Regions from separate parts of the Homo sapiens genome. Here region 2 is linked to region 1. The links are contacts of gene promoters, found by promoter capture Hi-C in human tissues and cell types (Jung and others, 2019). All regions are on one chromosome and are shown on one strand. The core of a region is centred on a gene start or on the middle of the fragment in contact, and the rest is flanking DNA. Distances in the headings are between cores, read along the strand shown. Region 1 holds the start of ASTN1 (astrotactin 1). Region 2 overlaps ASTN1 (astrotactin 1).

The links. Contacts are between HindIII fragments. The study calls those that stand out against the background at their distance.
Region 2: a fragment that was not itself captured here is called in contact with the fragment with the promoter of ASTN1 in region 1 in 2 of the 25 tissues and cell types used here (H1 embryonic stem cells and heart left ventricle).

The regions. Positions count from the first base shown.
Region 1 is chr1:177,162,232-177,168,038 of GRCh38, forward strand. ASTN1 (astrotactin 1) reads right to left here and starts at 2,481. Exons shown (of 23, transcript NM_004319.3): 1 at 2,163-2,481. The coding sequence starts at 2,445. The HindIII fragment of the contact is 7,081 bases long and covers 1-4,560 here.
Region 2 is chr1:176,947,931-176,953,737 of GRCh38, forward strand. It overlaps ASTN1 (astrotactin 1), which reads right to left. Exons shown (of 23, transcript NM_004319.3): 12 at 1,255-1,421. Among named protein-coding and RNA genes, the nearest start is that of MIR488, 79 kb to the right of the region's middle. The HindIII fragment of the contact is 8,935 bases long and covers 1-5,807 here.

The sequences.
Region 1 (5,807 bases), core at 1,231-3,730:
CCAGATCTGTTTAACCACCCACCCAAACTGAAATTCATTCCTTCTTCCTTTGAGCATACTGAGTCAGAAAGAATAAGTACCAGCCCTTCTCTGGTTCTGAGCATACCCCACTGACTGGGAGAGTGGGAGATAATCGATGCATTTAAATAGTGCATCTGGCCCTGAAGTGAGAGAGTGTGTCTGTGTGCCTGTGTGTAAATGCCAAGTTGCACCAGATTACCATAGCAACCCCAACAGGACACTGCAGTGGGCAGCTTTGCACAGAGGTGCAGAAAACCCGTTCTTATAACATCTGGGCTTTCACTGTGCACATTGGTTCCTAGTAGGCACATCACAGCATTAGGCCCTGGTTTTGGGATTCTGCAAAAAAGAAATGAAATGTTGAATACCTGCTAGCCCTCCCTTTTTTTAAGCACCATGCTTGTACCTCTTCATGCACAGTAAACACTACAAGCAGAGTGCAAAACAGCCTCTTTAGAAACACATAATTCCCTCTACTCACTTTTATATACTATGATGAACAGATTGTACTTTGCATATCAGCATGACTTCAACGTGAACTTTCCATCCTCCAAATAACCCAGTAATTGTACATTTTGATGAGCGGCATATCCACAATGCTCCCATTTCCAGCTAGTCCCCAGTTTTTATTATGTTATTGGTATTTTTGAAAGCAAAAATAAATAATCCTATCAAGAGCATAGGTTGGGTTTAATGGGTTCAACTGAGCTGCACTCCGGGAACTATAAAGCAACTTTTCAAAGGGCCAGGCAATTTTTGAAATTGCTTTTCCCTAAGGGTTGGGGAGTAGGGGTTTATTCACTCACTTCCTAGTGTTTTCAGTGTGAAGACATCTCCTATGAAGGAAGAGCAAGAGGGATGTGTTAGAATTCCACATGTGGCTCTAGCCTACATGTGGCCATCAGGAAACCATGTTTCTGCAAATGGAACTGTAGTTGGTAGGGTATCAAGTAAATGGAACAGCCTCCTAGACATTTTCTTTTTTTCTCTACTTGGATCTAGAGACTGAAGTGTGGTTTTCTTTGAATTTCTCCTGGGCAAAATAAGAATAATTGGCAACATCACTAAAGAAATGGATTGCATGGTAGGCATGCACAGCAAGGTGAGAGCTCCATCTACACATGGAGAAGTGAGGGGAATTTGGCAAAGTAACATGAACTTGTGGTGCTTTGCAAGATACTAGAGCAGGACCACAAAACCTTTGCAGCTTAGTAGTGGAAAACAGGGATGATTTGAAGTAATGTATGGGTTCCAGTACCTGAAGTGACAGGAGTTCCACTACCTGAAGGTGACCTAAGAAAATTACAGTGGGAGTACCAAAAAGAGAGAGATGTAAACAAACAAAGGAAGGAAGAGCCCCTTGCCTAGAAAGGTCATTCTGTGTGCAGGAATGCCTACGCCTATCTAAGGTGGCCCTGGGAACAAAGAAGAGACCAATACTAACAGACTACAGTTGTATAATATCTTTAACCAACTGTGACGTGACATGGATGTGTGGATGTGGTTGAATTAGGGGGTTGTGACATCTAAGCATGGAGGTAGGACTTCCCAGAATGAACAGCTGGGGGATAAGAAACTTGAGTGTTTGGAAGGGAGGGTGTCAGTAGCCTGGTGACAGATAAAGGGCTCTCCATGAATGAAGACTAGAATCTGGCTTGCACATAGCTGGCAAGGTGATGACAGGATACCTGTTTCTAAAGCCCCCAGGAAGTGCTGTAGGTGGGTGTGGGTATCCAGAGTGAGTGAAGCAAAGAGCTGAGCATGTGGCTAGGGAGTGGGGAGAAGGGATTATGGGAGTTGAACTGGTAGCAGACAAAAAGTGCTGTGTGGATGTGCTCCTGAATCAAAGCTGGGAGGTCAAGGCTGGGAGAGGTTTCAGAGAGACTCATGCAACCTGTTTCTTTGAGGCAGGGCAGCTGAGAGGAGGCTCAGCATCCAGGTCGGATTTGGGGAGAAGTCAGGTGCACAGAGGCGCTAGTATGCAAGTGGGTGTGGAGAATGGTCCGGGAGTGGGGCGGATCCGGGAGGTAGGAGTGGGGGAGGGGAGGTCGTCGGCGAGTGGGTGTGTAGAGCGAGCTGGAGTGGGGGGTGGGGGCGCCGGTCCAGCGCCTCCGGCCGCCTCGACCTCCCCCGGGACTCACCCAGCACGAAGTAGGGCAGCTCCGTGTTCTCCAGGTCGTCCACCACGACCATTTCTCCCGGGAAGTCGTTGCGCACCGAGAAGAGGAGCTTGGGCTCCGAGGCCGAGGGGCTGTGCATGATGCTCAGGTCGTTCTCGCGCAGGAAGGGCAGTGCCGACACCGTGATGCTTTTGAGCTTGCACTCCAGCTCCTTGGATGGATCCACGTCGCCGGCGGCCGTGGCCAGCACCGCCGCCGGCCCCCAGCAGCAGGCGAGCAGGGCGCAGAGCCCGGCTAAAGCCATCTTGAGCCCCGGCCGCCTTCCTCCTAGCGCTGCGATGGTGGGGGAGGAAGCGAGCGGGGAGGGAGCGAGGGAGCGAGCGCGGGAGGCGGGGGAGGTTAGGGAGGGGATGGAGAGCCGGGAGAGCCCTGGACCCCGGAATGAGATGCCGCTTGCAGAGTCCTGGGTTTAAGCTCTGATGTCTGGAGAGCCCCGGATTCTTTGTTTCCCGGAGCTGCTTATCTGGAGAAGGGAAAGCGGGGGAGGGGGGAGAGGAGAAAAAGGGAAGGAAGGACGTCGAAAGGAAAGAGGAAGGGAGCTGAGGATTCTAGGGAATCAGGTCAGCCCCCAGCTGGCTGCCGGTGCTCCTGCCTCTCTCCTCCGTTGCATCCTCCAACACGAGCAAGGCTCTTGGCTATGAACTACCTGCACGGCATTTTTAATACATTGATCTTTGCAATGTAAAATCTTCCCTCTCGCATCATCATCCAGAAGGCTTGAGAGAGGCACACACAGACATACACCTTAAAGGGCGCTTCTGCAAAGCTGCGCGGTGAGGGGAGATGAAAATTCCCCCAGTGGTTTTGTGGATGTATTATAGCTTGTCCGAATCTTGCTTCCACCCCGCCCCGTCCCCCACTAGTTGGATTTGTACATAGGATAAACGGGAGCTGGGAATGCACATGTGCATATTTTTACTTAGCACTAACTTTGCAAAATATTTAAAGAAAATATTTGTTATACTGGTTTAGATGGATGGATAGATATGCACAACAGAGTAAGGTGCACAGTTAAGCAGGAGATCGAAACTTTTACTCGCAACTTCTCTCTGCTTCATTTCATTTCTATCACAAATTTTATCTGTAGTAACCAATAAAAAGATGATTTGGGGAATATTATAGCTGATAGAAAAAAAGTAGGGTTAGCTCAAATAAATCTTGAAACTTTAATTTTAGACAATCTAGTAAATAGGACAAAGCTGGAAAGAAATTGTGAGAAAAACCAAAGTTCCTAAGCATTCTTAACAGATGGAAAAGTAATAAAAGAATATCCTTGGGTATGAGCTAAGTCAATCCCAATCCAGTCAAGAGTACAACAGGGAAGATGTTCAGCACCCTGCGTAAGTATTCTGAAGAATAACACCACCACCACCACCACCAAAACCCATGTAAGATCTGTTCCCAGTAGTGCTCAACAATGTTGCCTTTTAAAAATGATGACAATATGCAATAAACAGTGGTAGAAAAGTGACATTGTGTATTCTGAAATCTGACATTTAACTGAACTTTCTCTCACATGATAACCAATAACTTATTTCAAAAGTGTGTCCCTCCATTGTTATTGGGTCAATGCTAACTTCAATACTAGGTGCTGTGAAGACTGTGTTATTTGTAGTTCTCACTCTAGAAATTTAATGCACTACTGTTCTAAAAGAGGACCCCTACTTAAGAAACAATTACATTTTCATTCTACCTGGTGTCAGTTTATTGGCATATGTGAAAATATGTTCTTTAAAAGACAAAAAAGCTTTTGCCATATATTTTACAAAGTTTATCTAATTGAATAGAGAAAATAAGCCATATTTAAGGTAATGTTTAAGTAGTGAAAGATCATTTACCACATATGCAAAGAAAAGAAGAACAAAGACACTTTATTAGTTGAGTTTTTATATGTAACTTATCTGGGAATTAACCCCAAGTTATCTTACCATGCAGCATTGCAAACTACTGTAAACTACTGTAAAAAAGATGTACCAGCTAACGACTTTTGAAAACTCATCCTGATCGTCATTGCTCCCCTAAGAGATACTGAGTGAGACAAAAACCCCATGATATCTCTTTCATTCTGTTATCCCTAGCATAAACAAAAATCTAGTATTAAACTTACTTATGCAAGGTTATTTGCCATTGAATAATTATAGTGGATGTCAGGAACACACCCTTGATACTAGAATGTGAGAAATGGCATGTAAGTACCTGATCATGTATTCATCCAATCTCTCACTTAACAGATAAGGAAATTGAGACCCATTAAAGAGTGATCTATCTTCTATGGAGCTAAGACCATGAACAAGATTTCTTTGCCCACTGCTCTTTCCACTATATGGTTATGGTACACTAGGGTGCACCCATGGATAATCACTGGGCTTTATGGACCACAGTAATTAATTCAGCAAATGTTTGTGTACCTACTGTATCATAAGCATTAGGCTAAGCACAGCCAGAAAAATACTACTCCTGCTTTTGAGTAGCATATAATCTACTGTCACTTTGAAATCTTTCTTTCTAATTTTCTGAAGATTCTTGAGTCATGTTAGAAAGCCCAAGTAAACCATTTAGGGTTGATTTTCCAATAAGTCAATATCTAGTCTTCTTAAAATGTATATTGAGTTGGGCATAGTTGGTAGTTGGTATCTCAAGTCTTTCTAGACCTCTCTAAACAAAACCAAACAAAAGAAACAGTAGAATTTTTTAAAAGAGAATATATTATTCCAGAGTACTTGATTCCTGTAAAAATGGAAATAATGTCACATGGCCCTTTCTTAGGGAATTAAATACCTAGAGATGTGGGTAAAGGTTGAAGTACATGGAAACCAGGCCATCTCTAATGCATGATGTTTTACATTTAGAGGAGATGGGGGAAAATGTTATGCATCTCAATCATCACCTTTGTGTAGAGGCATAATGATATAGTGAAATAATAGAACTGGATTCAAGACTTAACTTCATAATATTCTTATTTGGAGATAAGCTTGGACCATTCTTGTCTTTAGTTCCCCATCAACAAAAGGGGCCAATCATCTCCGCTCACCCCTGCTGGTCACAGAAAATGTTTCTGACTTTCATCACCAAAGAGTAATGTTACTTGCTCTTGAATTTTATAAATATAGAATCTTAGAGTATATGCTTTTTTGTGTCTTAATATTTTCACTCATCATTATGTCTGTGAGATTTATCCATGTAGTTCAATATTGTATTGCTGTGTACTAGTCCATTACATGACTACATGGCATTTATTCATTCTCAGAAAATTTCTATTCTTTAAAACACTGTAAAACAGCAAGCGCTGTTATCTCCAATCTTCACTTTTCTCCTGAGATACACCTTCCTGTATTTAAGCACCAATGGCCTCTTTCCTTGACTATTAAAATAGATTTTGATTCCTTTTCCTCCTAGCAACGCATTCTGTACACAACTACCAGGTTGATCTTCATGAAATCTAACTTTCATTATGTCATTCTAGTTTTTCTTTTTCTACATGATAAAGCTGAAAACCCATGGTTTAGAAATTTTAAAACTCTTCTAATCTCACACTGTTTTTTAGATAGTTTGCTCACTGCACTATATCTCTATCCTCCCACCACACATGTGCACACAGACACACAC
Region 2 (5,807 bases), core at 1,262-3,761, 210 kb before region 1:
CTCTATTAATTGAAATGGGTCAACCCTAATGATAACATTACAGAGAATATTAAGATATAGAGCAAGCTTCCATTTATGGTATGAGAGTTTACAAGAAACTGAATGTGAAAATGGTTCAATTACAAAGAAATAAAATGAAACACAATAAAATAACATTACATGATTATTCAGCAGGCACTGGCTTTGGGCAACAATCCAGCCTAGTTTTATGACTATAAACATTGATTATCATTGCAAGCCTATCAGACTGTGAGATCCTTGAGGGCAAGAACTATATGTTATTTATCTTTGCAGCTCAGTGGTCGGCACAGTTTGTGGCATAAAGTAAGTTCTGTCCTTAGCAGGTCGGAAGAGAGAGGGGAGGGGAGGGAGAGGGGGGAGAATGGAGAGTGGGGGAAGGATAGACAAGCTAACTATGGCTGTAGAAGAATAGCTGAATCTTTGTTTACTTTATAAATATAGCATAAAATGTCTTTAAATATAATTCCAGTCAGCAGTATAAATTTAAATTTCCAGAGAACCACAGAACTTTTGAAAAATCAGGGAGGGCCTGAATCCAGTCGTAATCTTCTCACTCACCATCTTCCCAGCTTTGAGGGAGTCACTTAACCTCACTGTGCATTAGTTTTTCCATCTGTAAAATGGGTTTGCATTGCTTGCCCTGCTCCCTCACAGAGTGATCCTGAGAAGAGATGAACTGAGGTGGGTGGGAGAGCCTGCCTGCAAGAAAGGGCTCTTCACACGGAGGAATCACTGTGCCTCAGGAGGAGTGGCTGCACACAGTGCTGGGACTTTGGGGGCAGAATTTAGAAAAGTTTCCATTTGTCCAAAGACCACCCCCCTTTTTTGAGAATTGACTAGTTTTGCACACTCTTTCCCGAGTTTTAAACAATAAAAACCTTTTGTCACAAAACACTTAATTAACATAGCCTTTCAAAACACAACTTGGAAAATGCTGGTTTAATTGGAGAATGATTTAAGTAAACCATGTAGTTAACTTCCCCTTGCAGGTAAATTCCCCAGACTCAGTTTCCCCATCTATAGGGGCTGGACTAGACTTAGGTCCCACACAACTTTAAAATGTTCCCCCTCGACTTTAAAAATGTTCCCCCCCAAGTCCTAGAGGCTCTTTCCTCAGAGACTAAGGGATGGCCTAGGGTGACCTATTCACTCACATTTCCTGGATTTAGCATTGAAAGTCCTGCGTCCTGGGACAGATGGACGCCAGGTGGCCTCGCTGGCAGCTCAACTCACCCACAGAACATGAGGATGTTATACAAGGTGGGGTCGTCCGGGAAGGGCGCCATCTGCTGGAGGCACAGCTGCTCACAGCCGCCGTTGAAGCCGTCGGAACAGTCCACCCCGATGTGGCGGTCATAGCAGCCAGAGCTGTCCTTCATGGGACTGAGTCCAGATGGGCACTGGCACAATCAGAAAACATCCACATACGTGGGTGAATCGGGGAACTGAGTTCTCTGGGAACTGAGTGTAACCACTGACACCAATTTGTAGCACTCAGCCTTGAAACTATTAACATTCGCAAGTAATCCATGAATTTCCTACCACAGCAGACTTCTTTTAAAAACAAGTGACCTTTTTTGACGTCTTTCTTCTTCTCTCTAGACACTGATCACACACATTTGCATTAAAGACACTTCCTCCAAAAAGGCTGGAAGAGAGCACTGTAGCAAGACACAGCCGAGGTGTACTGGCCTCCCAAATGGGCCTCTGGCTGGCAGGAGAGTGGAAGTGATGGGCCAGAATGAAAATGCATTTGCAAAGATTCCACTGGGCTACAGGAAGGAAGTGCTGCTCTTTGGCCTTGGTGGTACTATGAGTTTTTTAAGTGTCTAAAGCCCTTTGTCAACAATGGTACCAAATAGCAGTGTTGGGGGGAATGGACTGAGCCAGGGCTTCCAGCCTGAAGGAGGAAGTGAACATTCCCTGTAAGCTTAGAGGGGGGTTGCTCTCATAGTGGGAGTAGCTGTGTCATCACCTCCCTGTGTCAGGGATGCTCTTTGGAAGACACCTAAGACACAAGGGTACCTACTATATGGTCACCCACAGGTGCTGCACTTGGATTTGGCTGGATGCTTTTAATGCAAAATATTTAGCTTTTCAGCACTACCTTGTCCTCAGTAATATACTCCCCAAGAATTATAGCAAAGAGAATATCTAAGAAGGGATGTCTTTTCCCAGGAGAAGACAAAAGGACTTGGTGAGCAATTACAGCACTTACCCATCACCTATTATATGCCAGGCCGTGGTCTAAGGTGCTCACTAACTCATGTGATCCTCACAACACCCCCAGGAGGTAAGCAGTATGATCATCCCCATTTTGCATATGAGGCAACTGAGGCACAGAGAGTTTCACTTTCTTAAAGTCACACAGCTGCTCCTGGCAGAACCATGCTTGAACCCTTTGTAGGTTGGCTGTGGAGTCCGTAACTTAGCTGCTTCATCATTAGCACACACCACACTTAACCGTTTACACAGTAGTCACCGTTTACTGAACACTTATGAGGAGCTTGGCACTATGCTTAAGTACTTTAGGTATTTTATCTCACAATACCCTATATTATCCCTATTTAGAGGTAAGGACACCATTAACATTGCCAGTTAATTCACAAACTCTTCTCACTGCACTGGGCTCTGTTTCAAAGTCAATGACTTTTTTTCCCCATCCTGCACCTTCTGCTTGTGCAACAGATTCTGTACATTTGCATTAGAGCTAATCCTTTCTAATAGGCTGGAAGCAGGTAAATAACTTGCACAAGGTCAAGCAGCAGGAGTCGGGCAGAACTGGGGGTCTGTCCAGATCTGACTCCAATGCTGGGGCTTTTAATGACTATGCTGTATACATATCGCCAACAAGTTAACACACTCCTCCAAAACCAACACCAAACTAAAGCAAAACTTTCTAAACTCAATGAAACACAGTGTTAAACATCTCCCCTCCCTCCCTACTGCCTGGTTTGCACTTTCTCTTTGCTGCCAAGCACCTTGTCTTAGTAGCCCACAGCTGCTGCAGGTGTGCCTCTGAAAACTCACCTCTCCTTCCTCCTCTTTCTTAGTTGAAGATCATCACCAGGCAGGATATGCACTGTTTGCTAACACTAATTCTGTAACTTCCCAAACAAATGGCCCCCTGTGGGCCTGCCAGGCTCCCAGCCTGGTCCATCTCCCTTTCTCCCCATGAAGGCAGCTGGAGTGCTGGAAGGTGACAGCATTTAAAGAAGTTTCCAAGGGCTGCCTCGTGCTGTGCAAACCCAGCTGTTCCAGATGATGGTAAACAAGCAAATGAGGCAGCTGAGGATTGCCCCCCATGTTTTGCTAGCCTCCCACTAATCATATTCCTTGGCCACCCAGCTGTTAGGCCAGATGTGCCACCAGAAGGGAGCTGGCTTCAGCACTGTGCGGCTGCCCAGGCATGGATGCAGGATAGAAACCTGGAAGACATGGAAGTTTGATTGGAATTGAATGGGCTGCACTGGTTGCCATGAGTTTGGTTTATTTTTCCCTCCTTCTAGACAGCTTGCTAGAAGCCATTAAGCAGATAAAGTCAGTCCTTCTTTTATTCCCACCTCATATGGTTTCAGCCCTTGTACCACCTAGCTACCTCAGTCACTAGCCAGTAGTTTCCATCTTTCCAACCACCCGCTTTTTTCAGAGTTCTCCTTCAAGCATGATTTTTGACAAAGACTTTGTTGAATGAAACATGAGCAGGCTTTGTTTCAGAATTCCAAAACCACATCTTGCCTGGCTTTAACGTCTAGATGACCACTGCTATCCCAAATTGGACCAGCTGAAATTCATACTCTCTTAGGCAACTTGCAGAAAAGACAGTTAGCTGTCTTGTCCAGGTTTTTTATTTTTTTACTTATCAATAAAGCCAAAAATAGTATTAATAGCTATCAGAAATTAAGCAATTCTTTGTGTAGAATGGTCTACATATGTTATCTTCAACCCAATAACACAGGTACATTTCATCTTCTACAATTTAAAGATGAGGAAAATTAGACTCAGAAAGATGAGGTAACTTGTCTAGGGTCCCAGTGGTGGAAAATGGCATGATCAGACTTCGGGCCTAGATTGTCTGTCCTGAAAGCATGTGTGTTTTCCATCTACTCCGCCATGCTGCTTCTCTAGTATGATAAAATCTGGATTCATGAGAATCCCTAAAGAAACAAAGTCAATGTGTCAACAAAGCAAAGCAATCCTGTAGATTTGGTGATTGCTTTAAGGAATTCCCAGAGTGTGTTCTGGGGTCAATTATGGATTTGTAGATTCAGCCTAGTATTTTCTTTCTTTCTTTTTTTTCTCTCTCTCTTTTCAAACACACAAACACACACACACACACACGCACATGCATGCATACACACACATGAAGTACCAAAATACTGAGTGTAAATATTTTAGGACAAAACATTATAAAGTGTCCAGAGTGACGACCTTGATGGCGAGTCAAGATCCTCAATCACTGAAAAAGATGCAATTATCCCTACTGCACTGGAACTTGCTTAGGCTGCAGTTCAGAGTAAAACATTTTAGAAAGATTTCCAGAAAAAAAAAAGGCTAAAACCCAAAATAATTTTCTTCTTAACCTTTGGGAACCCGAACACACATTCTTTAAGGAGTTTCCTAAGGTATAAATTTGTTTTGTTTTTTGCCTGAATCTTCTTTCTGCTGTTGCATCCACATTCTGGGTTCCCTCAAAATCTATAGCTAAGTACAAAGAAACCAGAGTCTCCAAACCATGCCCTTCATCCTAGAAGTGTTTGTTGCCAGAGTCCTGTTCTCAGAAAGAAATCCTGCCTCCAGGAGAAGCATGCATTTTCTGTTTGCAAGGGCTGGATATTCTTTTCTCCTGGCTCTGGACAATGCCTCCACTTATTCCTTGAAAGAGAACTGTTTGATCAGGAGAGACCCCCAAGGTCATATATTAACCCTTCTTTGCATAGGTTATATTTAGCATTCCTAGGGACTTTATAAACTACAGGCTTAAGAAGAAAACTCCATTTATTATGGCAACAGCCCTCCCCTAACAAAAAGGTTGAGCAAATGAGCTCATATTTCAGTGACCCCTAAAATACACAAGGTTAATCACCTTTCGTGAGATGCTCATGGCTTCTTGACTTATTAGTGGTATAAGGCATAATTGGCTAATGAGATTAAAATGATTTTTCCCATTCAACTCCTTTTCTTTGTCATCTTTCCCCTCTTTTCCTACCAGTGATTTTTAGTTGATTAATTACTTAGGAGGCTGGTCAAATCTCAGGAAGACTCACTAAGATGCATACTTCCGTTCCAGATTATGAAGTGGGTGCTCTGTTGGGAGATGAGTATGAGAGATAAATACATGAACATATTCAGGGCCTCTGGGAGAAAAGGGATAGATTCTTGCAGCTGATCCTGCCTCACCTTACCTTAGATGATTCATAAGACATGCAACTATAATTCCTATTAGAAATGGGTTCTCTTTTACTAAATGGCAACCTCACTTCTTTTACAAATAATGATTCCCAAACTTTTTGATGGGCTCTGACATGCAGGCTCAAGCCATGCAGGACTTCTCCCAAGGGGAAAAGTTTGATGGAGTCAAATTTATATTTCAGCAGTGATAGCTTCCTGCCTCCATTTCTCTGGAAGCCTCTGAGGCACACTCTTCTGCTTACTGTCCTACAGAGAGAGAGATGGTAATCTGTGATGGTCTCCGCACATCTGTGCTCCAGTAGAGGTGAAATGACACATTTCATGGGAAACCATTGTAGATAGCATGTGGAGGGAAGGGCGGCAGGGTCACTGGG